3 separate regions of the Homo sapiens genome follow, and all the other regions are linked to region 2. Evidence: promoter capture Hi-C in human tissues and cell types (Jung and others, 2019). All regions are on one chromosome and are shown on one strand. The core of a region is centred on a gene start or on the middle of the fragment in contact, and the rest is flanking DNA. Distances in the headings are between cores, read along the strand shown. Region 1 has its middle 29 kb from the start of LINC00423. Region 2 holds the start of KL (klotho). Region 3 overlaps STARD13 (StAR related lipid transfer domain containing 13).

Region 1 (3,363 bases), core at 840-3,339, 77 kb after region 2:
GAAACTTTTTCCCTTCTACATTTTCTACAGTTTCAGCTCTTATGTTTGGACCTTGGATTTATTTTGAGGTAATTTTTGTACGTGTTGTAATGTAAGGGTCCAGCTTTGTTCTTTTGCATGTGGAGATTCATTTCCCCAACACCATTTGCTGAAAAGACCATCCTTTCCCTCATTGAATGGTCTTAGCACGTTTTTTGAAAATTAATGGATCGTATATGTCACTGACCATATTTAACCCCGAAATAACAGCACATCACTCCTACAACATGTATAGTACCTGCTATGTTCCTAGCAGTTTGCTAAGAAGAGACGAAGAAAATACAGTTGTAAGGAGCTCAGAATCACACAGAGGAGCTCAGACAGGAAACTGAATAACCACAGTGTGAGGCAGAATGTGATATGAGCACCAACAAAACCCTGGGGGACCCAGAGGGAAGCACAGTTCAATCCAGCAAGGAAGATGTGAGAAGTTTTCAAAGCTCATGGTGGCATGGGAGCTCTACCTTGGCAAATGGATGGGATTTCCACATGTAGAAGCTGGATGAGGGGCAGCAATTTCAGATGAAGGGCACAGCCTAAGAAAGTGCCCAAAGGTGGGAAATTGCCCAAAGGTGGGAAATTGCAGAAGATTGGCTTTGGCTGAAACATGGTTTATATGCAGACGGAAACTGTATAGGAAGAAGGAGAGGTAAGAATGCCCCTCTCCAGCACCTCCGACATCTGCTGATTTGCAGACCCAGGGGAGACTGGGATTATAAGTAGGACTCAGGATATATAGGGAGGGAAAGAGATGGGGGCTGGGTTTCTGCATCCTCTCCCTAAAGGGTAAGCATGGCTGTTGAGTCTCCACACAGTCTACAGACTGATGTCTCAAACTCAGGACCAAAGTCCTGTCCTTAAATATGTCTCTTCCTCAGGACTACCAGAGGCAGGCAAAGCAAGATCTAGCCTAAAACTAGAAGCAAGCAAAGCAAGATCTAGCCCCAAACCAGAAGCAGGCAAAGCAAGATGTGGCTCAAAATTGGAGGCCACTAAATAGTTAAAGCCCCTTGATCCCCAAATGCTGGCTCTGGCCAAGGTCTCTGCTGGGGCAGAGCACAGACAGCTGGGCCCAGGGGCCAAGCAGTCCCTGGTTGTGATCTGTGTGGTCTGGCCTGGAGCCAGCCAGCCAGCAAGAGGCCGATCCACTCACAGGGATACAGAGAGCCTCTCAGAAGCCTCAGTGCTGAATACAGGAAACAGTTGAATGAAGAGTAAAAGAAGCGGCCTCAAAATGCTGTTTCCTCGGAGAGTCAGCAAAGTTCAAAAAGGAACAGTTCCTAGGCCGGGCCACTCAGCATGGGGCTTGGAGACTGGAGAGGGAAGGAATGGGAGTAGTGGCTATGAGCCCCTGTGGGATTGTGGCACATGCATAATTCCTCGGAGGGACACTGGACCTTTGGTCCAGGCTGGCGTTTTTCCAACGCTTATGACCATAACCTAGAGTAAGAAATATACTTTACATCATGACCCAGTAGATATATACACATACCTAATGGAAATAAACATTTCATAAAACAATGCCTTATCCTTGATACATAGGATGCACTCTGATACTTTCTTTCCTGGTCTATTCTGTTGATTTAAAATTCTGGTTGCAACCCACTAAATTCATTTCACAAGGTACCAAGGGGTTACAATCCACAGTTTGAAAAACGCTAACCTAAACCCATCTGAAGGAGTTGTCGGGCTTTTTGGGAGATGGAATACAAACAACATTAAACATTTTACAGGACTTAGGCTAATCAATATCACCCAAATCTCAGATGGAATGTGTTGCAGAAGTGGGATTCAACATTCAACAGTCCTCAAATCCAGATATGTAAATCTCAGGCCTTGCTCTATTAATTCAGGGCCTGTGGACCAAGCTGTTAATGACAATCTCCTTGACCCCACGAGGCCTTCATTCATTCATTCATTCATTTAGTAAACATGTATGGAACGACTACCATGGGCCAGGTTCTCTATACTTGGTGCTGGGAATTCCGAGATTAGCAACACAGGATGCCTGAGTTTAAGGAGCCCACATCCCACAAAGGACGCTTTAGATACTTCTGGCTGCAAGCAACAGAAGACTCACATCAAAATGATTGAAACCACAAGGACATTAATCATCTCACATGGTAAAATGTACTGAAAATTGGCAGTTCCAGGGTTGCTGCACTCAACAATTTAACAGCATCAGCTCTTGGCCAGGGCTCTCTGCATCCTTCCATTCTGCCATCCCAGCATGTTGGCTACTTCTTTAGTGGCCACAAGACACTGCAGCTCCAGATAACACACTTCACAGAGCCAACATCAGAGACATTTAAAGGACCTGTTCTTCTCTTGCAGCTCTCCTTTTTTTTTTTTTTTTTTTTGAGATGGAGTCTCACACTGTCTCCTGGGCTGGAGTGCAATGGCATAATCTCGGCTCACAGCAACCTCCGTCTACTGGGTTCAAGTGATTCTTCTGCCTCAGCCTCCCAATTAGCTGGGATTACAGGCATGCACCACCACACCAGGCTAATTTTTTTGTACTTTTAGTAGAGACGTAGTTTCACCATGTTAGCCAGGCTGGTCTCGATTTCCTGACCTCATGATCCGCCCACCTCGGCCTCCCAAAGTGCTAGGATTACAGGCGTCAGCCACCATGCCTGGCCTCTTATATCTCTTTTTTTAAAGGAGGAGGCTTAACCTAGAAATCATCTAGCTTCCTGAAAGTGTGGACCTCACACTGGCAGTATCTAGTTCTGCCTCCCCTGGGGAGACATCCAGACACTCAGGCCCACCCTAGACTTACACAATCACAGTCTGCCTTGTCCCTGATTCCCAGGTGACTCATCGTCAGCCAGAAGTGCCTCACACTCTCATCCTGAAATCAGTTACTGGCAGGCAAACCAGAACTGCCATGATTGGCTTGGGCTCATCAAGATACATCCCCAGGAGCTGAAATGAAGGCCCAGCCTTCCTTGAAGCTGGTTACCTGAACAACATCAAGATTCCATCAGTAAGAAGAGGCATTAGTCTTGAAAAGCAGCAGCCTGTCAGCCAATGGAGGTGGCAAAATGGGGTTGGATGGAGCTCCTTCAAACCACCATTGCCAGAAAACTATCATTGTTTGATCTGTCTGGTGGTTCCCAGGAAGATCACTCCTAAGGCTGTCTTTTTTGATGTCACTCAGAGCTCACCTAGTGCAGGATAGCCTTTTCCCTGGGAAATTGTTTAAAACAATTAGAGGAAACTGTTAAATATCTTGGCTGCTTGAGGCAAGTGGATCTTAGGAGAGCAACCAGCAGGCTAAGCAAAAAGATTAACAGGAAAAACTGGAGAATTAGATGTCCA
Region 2 (3,689 bases), core at 1,074-3,573:
TATTTGCTTCCAGTATGAACTGATAACTTGCTTATGTTTTCTTCAAAAAGTGAGACCATTCTTCCCATAGTTTTTCTATCACCAGCCATACACTGGTGGTCTTTAGAGTTTTTCAGATCCATAAAAGGATTGAAAAAGTATAAGAATCACCGCTCTAAAACATCCTTATGAAAAGACATACATAAGTATGAAATCACAAAAATCACAATGTGTTTCCAAACAAATCCAACATTCTTTTATGGCCAGTAGCAGCAAACAGGTTTTGTGGAACTGACATAAAATCTAATTTAGCCATTATTACAACATTACCAGCAGCTCAGAGCACTAAGTCACCTCAATAACCCAGTACTGCTCTGCCCATATTATCTATGGCTTTAATTAAAAGTGTTTAGAAATGGTTTTAGTACTGACTTTGTTCAGAATATGTGGCTGAATTCTAAATTTAAAAATAAGTCTTCCAGTAGGCCCACAAGTGATCAGAATTGGGTACCAAAAGTTGTACATTTAAACACTTTTATTAAAATGTTTATACATGTACATAAAATATTTTATTGTGATACAAAACTCTGTACAAAGTGTACTAACAACTGACATGATTATAAATGAATCCCCAAAACAATGGTGCCTAAATTTGAACACTAAGGAGAAAAAAGGAGGAAGAAATACTTGAGACAACTTTACCATGGCATAGCAATATTTCCTGCTGTCAAAATTAATAAAATATTTTGCACAAGGGTGTTACAATTAATTTTATCAGGCTAACAATGTCATAAGTGAGGAACCCTTTCAACTGTAGAGAGCACTGTGGAAATATAGATGTGGTAGAACAATCTATATCACCCTGCAGTTGTTTCTGTGTTTCTATGACTAGCTTTGTTTGAGATTGTATAAAGCGGTCTTCACACCCCGGTGAATAAGATTGGTGGATGCAGTTCCCTGCCCTGCCGCAGAAGGGACCTCCAAACACAGTTTAAATCTGACTCTCCGGGAGTTGTGTTTTGACACTTTCACAACAGTGTGAACTTGTGCCACAAGCAAGACAGATCTTATTGGATTAACACTGAACTCGTGACAGCTCCAGAGAGTAATGCTATCTGTGCGGCTTAAGAACAAACGTGTTTCTTTCATCCACCCTGCTCATTCTCTTCCTGCAGTTACTCCTAGCAAATCCTCCCCGCCCTCACCTCTAGGAATTCCTCTACACCCAGAGAAAGGAGTTTCTTTCCTCACTGCGGAAACCTATCACCGCTTCCTTTCCACAGATGGACTCCAAGGGGCACTCACTCGTGTGCCCACTAAGGGATTTCTCTCCTAATTCCACGCCTTCCAAGGGAAGTCAGAACTGCTCAGTTTCCCCCGGTGACCACATACACGTGTCCAAGTGAAGCCTCGTCTGGGGGAGACTCAGTTCCCACACTTCCCCCTGGCCCCTGTGGAGGCCCTCTGTCTCCCCTGCGTGGCCCTCCGCCTGGCCCCTCGCACTCACCAGGAGGAGGTTGTGCGCCACCAGGTACCCGAGCCGCGGGCTGCCCCGGATGCCGGGGGCCAGGCGCCCGGTGGCGTAGCCGTGCCAGGCCACCACGTAGGGGTTGTCGATGGTGATCCAGTACTTGACCTGACCGCCGAAGTGGCGGAAGCAGAGCTCCGCGTAATCCCTGAAGTGGTCGGCCAGGGCGCGGTTGGCCCAGCCGCCGTAGGCGTCCTGCAGGCGCTGGGGCAGGTCCCAGTGGTACAGGGTGACCACGGGCTGCACGCCCAGCTCCCGCAGCCGCTCCAGCAGGCGCCGGTAGTAGCGCAGCCCCTCGCGGTTGGGGACGCCCGCGCTGCCATTGGGGAGCACTCGCGCCCACGAGATGGAGAAGCGGTAGTGAGTGACCCCGAGCTCGCGCAGCGCCTCCGTGTCGCGGAAGACGTTGTTGTAGCTGTCGCTGGCTACGTCCCCGGTGGCGGGCTGCAGCGGCGACGGGGCGCCCAACGGCAGACTGGCGTTCCGGGAGTCTCCCGGGGGTGCCAGGGGGTGGTGGGTGAACGTATCCCAGATGGACGCACCCTTGCCGTGCTGCTGCCAGCCGCCCTCGGTCTGGTAGGCGGCGCTGCCCACGGCCCAGAGGAAGCCGTCGGGGAAGGTGCCCTGGAAGAGGCCCGCGGCCTCGGGGGCAGGAGGCCGCGAGAAACGGGCCCAGGTCTGCGCGCCGTCGCCCGGCTCCGCACGCAGGCGGCGGCCGCCCAGGCCCAGCAGCACCAGCAGCAGCGACAGCGACGGCGGCGGCGGCCGCGGGCGGCGCGGCGGGGCGCTGGCGGGCATGCTGCGCGGGAGCCAGGCTCCGGGGCCCCGCGCCGCGCCCCTTTATGCCCGCGCCCCGCCGCGCCCGCCCGCCCACCGCCGGCGCGCCCACCCCCGCTCCCCGGCGGGCTCCGCTGGCAATAATTACCTGCGAGCCGGGACTGCCTCCGCCCTGGCACTGGGGGCGGGGGCAGGGGCGCCGAGGGCGAGGGGTGCCCGGGAGGGGCGCGGCAGCGGGCAAGGTGCGGCAGGCGTCGCCCGCGGACGTCGGAGAAAGGCACCTGTTTCTCCCAGCTCCCGGGAGCCGTGCAGGACGTTTCGTGGACGCTCAGGTTCATTCTCTTTGCCTGCCGCGCGTCCTCTGAGAGCAGCCCTGGAGCGGCTTCGTCGGGGAGAAAAGGCGCCGACCAACTTTCCCCGACTTGGGGGCGGGATCCTGCCGGGCCCTAGCGGAGCGCGCCGCTGGGGAAGCACCTGCTCTCACTTTTCTCCCACTCGGAGGCCCAAAGAAGCTCCGGCTGGACATTGCTGGAGCCAATTAGGGACTGGCCGAAATCCTAGAGGGACTGCCAGGTGGGACAGCCGAGGGGGAACTTCGCCGTGCGCTGAAAGGGATTCCCCCTTAGGTGAGATGCTCGCGGGGAGACGCGCCCACCCGCGCCCCTCTTTCGAGGAAGACAAAGTAGATTTATGGGTTGCGTTGGGACTGGGGTTTTGCTCTCCCTTTTACTGTTACCTTTTAATAATTTCAAACCAGCACTCTATCTTTGATTAGATCTCTCAGAATACCCTGGTGAACTTCAAATCACAGTCGTTGATTGTTCTCCTGAAAAACCAAACACCAAGTTTCCAATTTTGAGTAAATCTCATTCACCTTTATTATCCTTTGGCATCTGTGTTACCTTTCGGCTCTGACTTAGCAGGTAATCTGTGCAAAGTTGTGCGCACAGGTCTGCTGGAGCGGGAGGTCCCTGGGTCGCACATTTGCCATCTGAGCTGTGGAGGGAAAGGGGAGGGAGAATTTAGCCGGAACACCCATTCCCATCCTCTACAATACAATGGAGCCATGACGTTTTTCCTGTTGCCAAAGAGCCCTTTTGACAGAAGTTGCAGAGCCACAGTGTCCATTTGGATGTGGGTAGATAGGATTGTGGCTAACCGAAATACAGTTGGTGGAGACTGAGAAGGTCTAGGCTCCACCTTTGTGATTTGGGGCAGGAAACCTCTGTAAGCCTAAGTTTCCTCCTCTATAAAATAAGGATGTCCTGTCTGCCCTGCCGCCTCAGAGGCTTGTGAAGTCCAGTGAAAAACTGCGCAAAGGTGACTCAAAGACAGAAAGCCCAGACAAGTGAAGGATCTTGCTAATATCCCTACCTCCCTACCCAGTAAGTCGTGCCTTAGTTTC
Region 3 (3,171 bases), core at 463-2,962, 100 kb before region 2:
CTTCCCCTGCTGTTACCACAATTTAAAAGAATGAGGACTGCTCTCCATTTGTTGCAGCAATCAGGAAAGCCTTTGTCACATACCCGAACTTGGGTGGAGGCCGGCCTGGCACACAGAGTGATCAGTAAGACGACCTGTATTAGGCTTTCCTCCAGGTATAGGGGGGATGAGCAGTGGCTGACACTAGTGGCCACTGTCTACCTGACCAGCCACTCAGGAAGGTTCTACCTTGCTTTGCAGAAGTGGGCCAACCCATGAGCCACTGGGGAATGAGAGCTGTGAAAATTGAGGGTTGAAGCAAATCAACTCCCTATAGGCATTTAAAAAATAGCAGACATATTATTTCACTATAAGCCAGGGTGCCCAGGAAAGTTCAGTTCCTTTTTGAATAGCGGGTAAGTCCAGCACAGAAAGTTCCTCTAGAGGGCCTAGAGCTTAACCTGCCCCACCATTGCAGGATCTTCATTCTTGCCGGGCTCTGCTCTGCCTCACTCATTCTCATTAGGGCCACTCTGTCCTTGATGCCTTAATGCTCCATTTATTCATCAAGTAGGGGAGGAGTCTAGACTCTAAGATGAAAAAGGCATGATATGACAATATCTTGAGGTCTGAAAAAAAAGCCACCCAGGAATCATTCTCACTAGAGCCATAGCTTACTGCATAAAAACAAACAGGTAGAAAAGTAAGTGCCAAGAATTCCAAAGAAGAAAAAGTAAATAAATTCCTTAAATCAAAATATGTACTTATGATATTAGTCTGTTTCATGAACATATTCCCCATAAAACTCTCCCCTGCAGGGGCACTGGATATGGCTGTTTATCTGGGATTCTTTCATCCACGACCCACATTGTTTTCACCAAACCTCCCATTGACCAGACGTTCTCAAAATCCCCATGGCAATGTAAACCCTAAAGGGCAGGGAATTTTATCTGTTCTGCTCACTAATGACACCTAGGAACTCTAAGCATGCCTGATACACAGTGGTTACTTAATCACTACTTGTTGAATAAATGAATAAAATAATAATAACATCTGCAGTGTGATAAGATGTAACAGGTCGCAAAGCACATGCACATCTATTTCCTCACTTACTCTCCACAGTAATCCTGTGAGGTGGGGTTTTATTCTTATCTTCATTTCATAGGAGAGGAAGACAGTGTTCGGGTACTGCCTAAAGTAGCTATACTAGTAGTTCAGCATGTACTAATTGGGAGGCAATTCCAGCTCATCCAGTTCCCTTCCCATGCTTCCTCCTCCTCCTCACAACCAAGTGTGGCCTGGCTGACACATCCCTATGGCTTTGTTTCAGGTGGGTCTTTTTCGCAAATCAGGAGTGAAGTCTCGAATCCATGCCCTTCGCCAAATGAATGAAAACTTCCCTGAGAACGTCAACTATGAAGACCAGTCTGCTTATGATGTGGCGGATATGGTGAAACAGTTCTTCCGGGACCTCCCTGAGCCTCTTTTCACCAACAAGCTCAGTGAGACCTTTCTCCATATCTATCAGTGTAAGTGGAAATAATGAGATTGGTGTTCTCGTGGGCATCCTTCCACTTTAATGAAAATAATTCCCTATAGATTGAGTTTTAATTATACGAATAATACATCAATCCATAAAGATGTATGTAATCCTGCTCTCCTCTACGGAAGTAACTTTTGCTCAAAGTTTGATATGGAAATCCACAAGCCATTTTTTTATGCATTTGAAAATACCTTTTTGACATCAAAATATTCCTTCTCAAAAGAGTTTTGTGTATGATCTAAAACAAACTTTCAATACATTTACAAAAATTTAAAATGAAAAAGGGACACAATAGAAGTTGTTTTATATATAGGTATTTATTAAAACTTATTCAATTTTTTAAAAAAGTAAGCATTTCTTTGGGATATAGGAAATTCAAAGTGACATGAATTAAAATGACAGGAAATAAAAACAAATGTATTTTAGCACAAAGTATCTTCATTGGTGAAAAGTAAGCAAACCAAATCAAGTCTTAAGCTTAAATAAACTTATTTATATTTTCACTTGGATTTTTTTTAATAATGTTAAGTTCTCAGCAAAGCCTGTATAATTAAAATAATCCCTGAAAATAACAATTGTTGATTAAGAAGCATATCCTACTATAAGTGGTTGCAATGGGGGTATTAGAAATAAACACATGGGCTGGGCATGGTGGCTCACGCCTGTAATCCCAGCACTTTGGGAGGTGGAGGTGGTTGGATTGTCTGAGGTCAGGAGTTCAAGACCAGCCTGGCCAACATGGTGAAACCCCATCTCTAACTAAAAGATACAAAAATTAGCCAGGCATGGTGGCGGGTGCCTGAAATCCCAGCTACTCAGGAGGCTGAGGCAGGAGAATCACTTGAACCCAGGAGACGGAGGTTGCAGTGAGTGGAGATTGCACCACTGCACTCCGGCCTGGGTGACAGAGCGAGACTCCATCTCAGAAAAAAAAGAATGAAATTAAACACGTGACTCTTTGCTAGATATGACAATGTTAACATTATGAATTATTTTGATGGTCCAGATCCCAATTCATGGGGGAAAAAAGCCATTTGGCCCATGGACTTTGAGTTTTGAGTTTTCAGCAAAATATGCCTGAAATGGACCTTGACATGGACTTGATTCAATTTGAAGAATATCCATGCTATAGAGAATTCTGTATAAAATGTGTTTAAGGAGTCCATGATACTGCAAACTCAGAAAGGATTGTAATCAGAACCACTTGTGAAAACAGATTAAGGTGGCAACCCACTAAGTAAATATTAGTTTTTCAAAGTAAGTAGATTAAGTTAAGTTAATGGTACAAGTTGCTAGAGCCCAAACAGGGAGTTCTTGATGTTGTTGCTGTGAGAGGTTGAACTACATTTTTCAATTAAGTCTCCCTTATGGTTTGGAAGTATCAGATATGAGTCTTTTACATTTAATCAGTTCTTGGATTAAAGTTGACACTAGTCTAAGGCTAAAGCCACATTACTTTCAAGAAATAAATGTCTTTGGCCCTTTCTGAGTCACAAGCAAGAAGCCAGATCAAAGCAGGCTTTATTTTAGCTGAGCAAACATTTACAGAGCGTGACTTCTGTACTGGGCACCGTGCTTAGCATGGCAGAGCATATGGATGGATGAGACTCACTCTCTGATCTTAAGGATCTTACAATTGAGGGAGATGA

The links. Contacts are between HindIII fragments. The study calls those that stand out against the background at their distance.
Region 1: a contact is called between a fragment that was not itself captured here and the fragment with the promoter of KL in region 2, in 2 of the 25 tissues and cell types used here (H1 embryonic stem cells and IMR-90 fibroblasts).
Region 3: a fragment that was not itself captured here is called in contact with the fragment with the promoter of KL in region 2 in 2 of the 25 tissues and cell types used here (bladder and lymphoblastoid cells).

What each region holds. Positions count from the first base shown.
Region 1 is chr13:32,938,601-32,941,963 of GRCh38, reverse strand. No RefSeq gene overlaps it. Among named protein-coding and RNA genes, the nearest start is that of LINC00423, 29 kb to the right of the region's middle. The HindIII fragment of the contact is 5,547 bases long and covers 1-3,363 here.
Region 2 is chr13:33,015,057-33,018,745 of GRCh38, reverse strand. It overlaps KL (klotho), which reads right to left and starts at 2,323. Exons shown (of 5, transcript NM_004795.4): 1 at 1,487-2,323. The coding sequence starts at 2,305. LOC124903151 (translation initiation factor IF-2-like) reads left to right here and starts at 2,293. Exons shown (of 2, transcript XM_047430819.1): 1 at 2,293-2,910. The coding sequence starts at 2,304. RefSeq lists enhancers at 1,298-1,357, 1,566-2,143, 2,144-2,719 and silencers at 1,428-1,527, 2,218-2,287. The HindIII fragment of the contact is 14,739 bases long and covers 1-3,689 here.
Region 3 is chr13:33,116,402-33,119,572 of GRCh38, reverse strand. It overlaps STARD13 (StAR related lipid transfer domain containing 13), which reads left to right. Exons shown (of 14, transcript NM_178006.4): 8 at 1,310-1,508. Among named protein-coding and RNA genes, the nearest start is that of KL, 100 kb to the right of the region's middle. The HindIII fragment of the contact is 8,860 bases long and covers 1-3,171 here.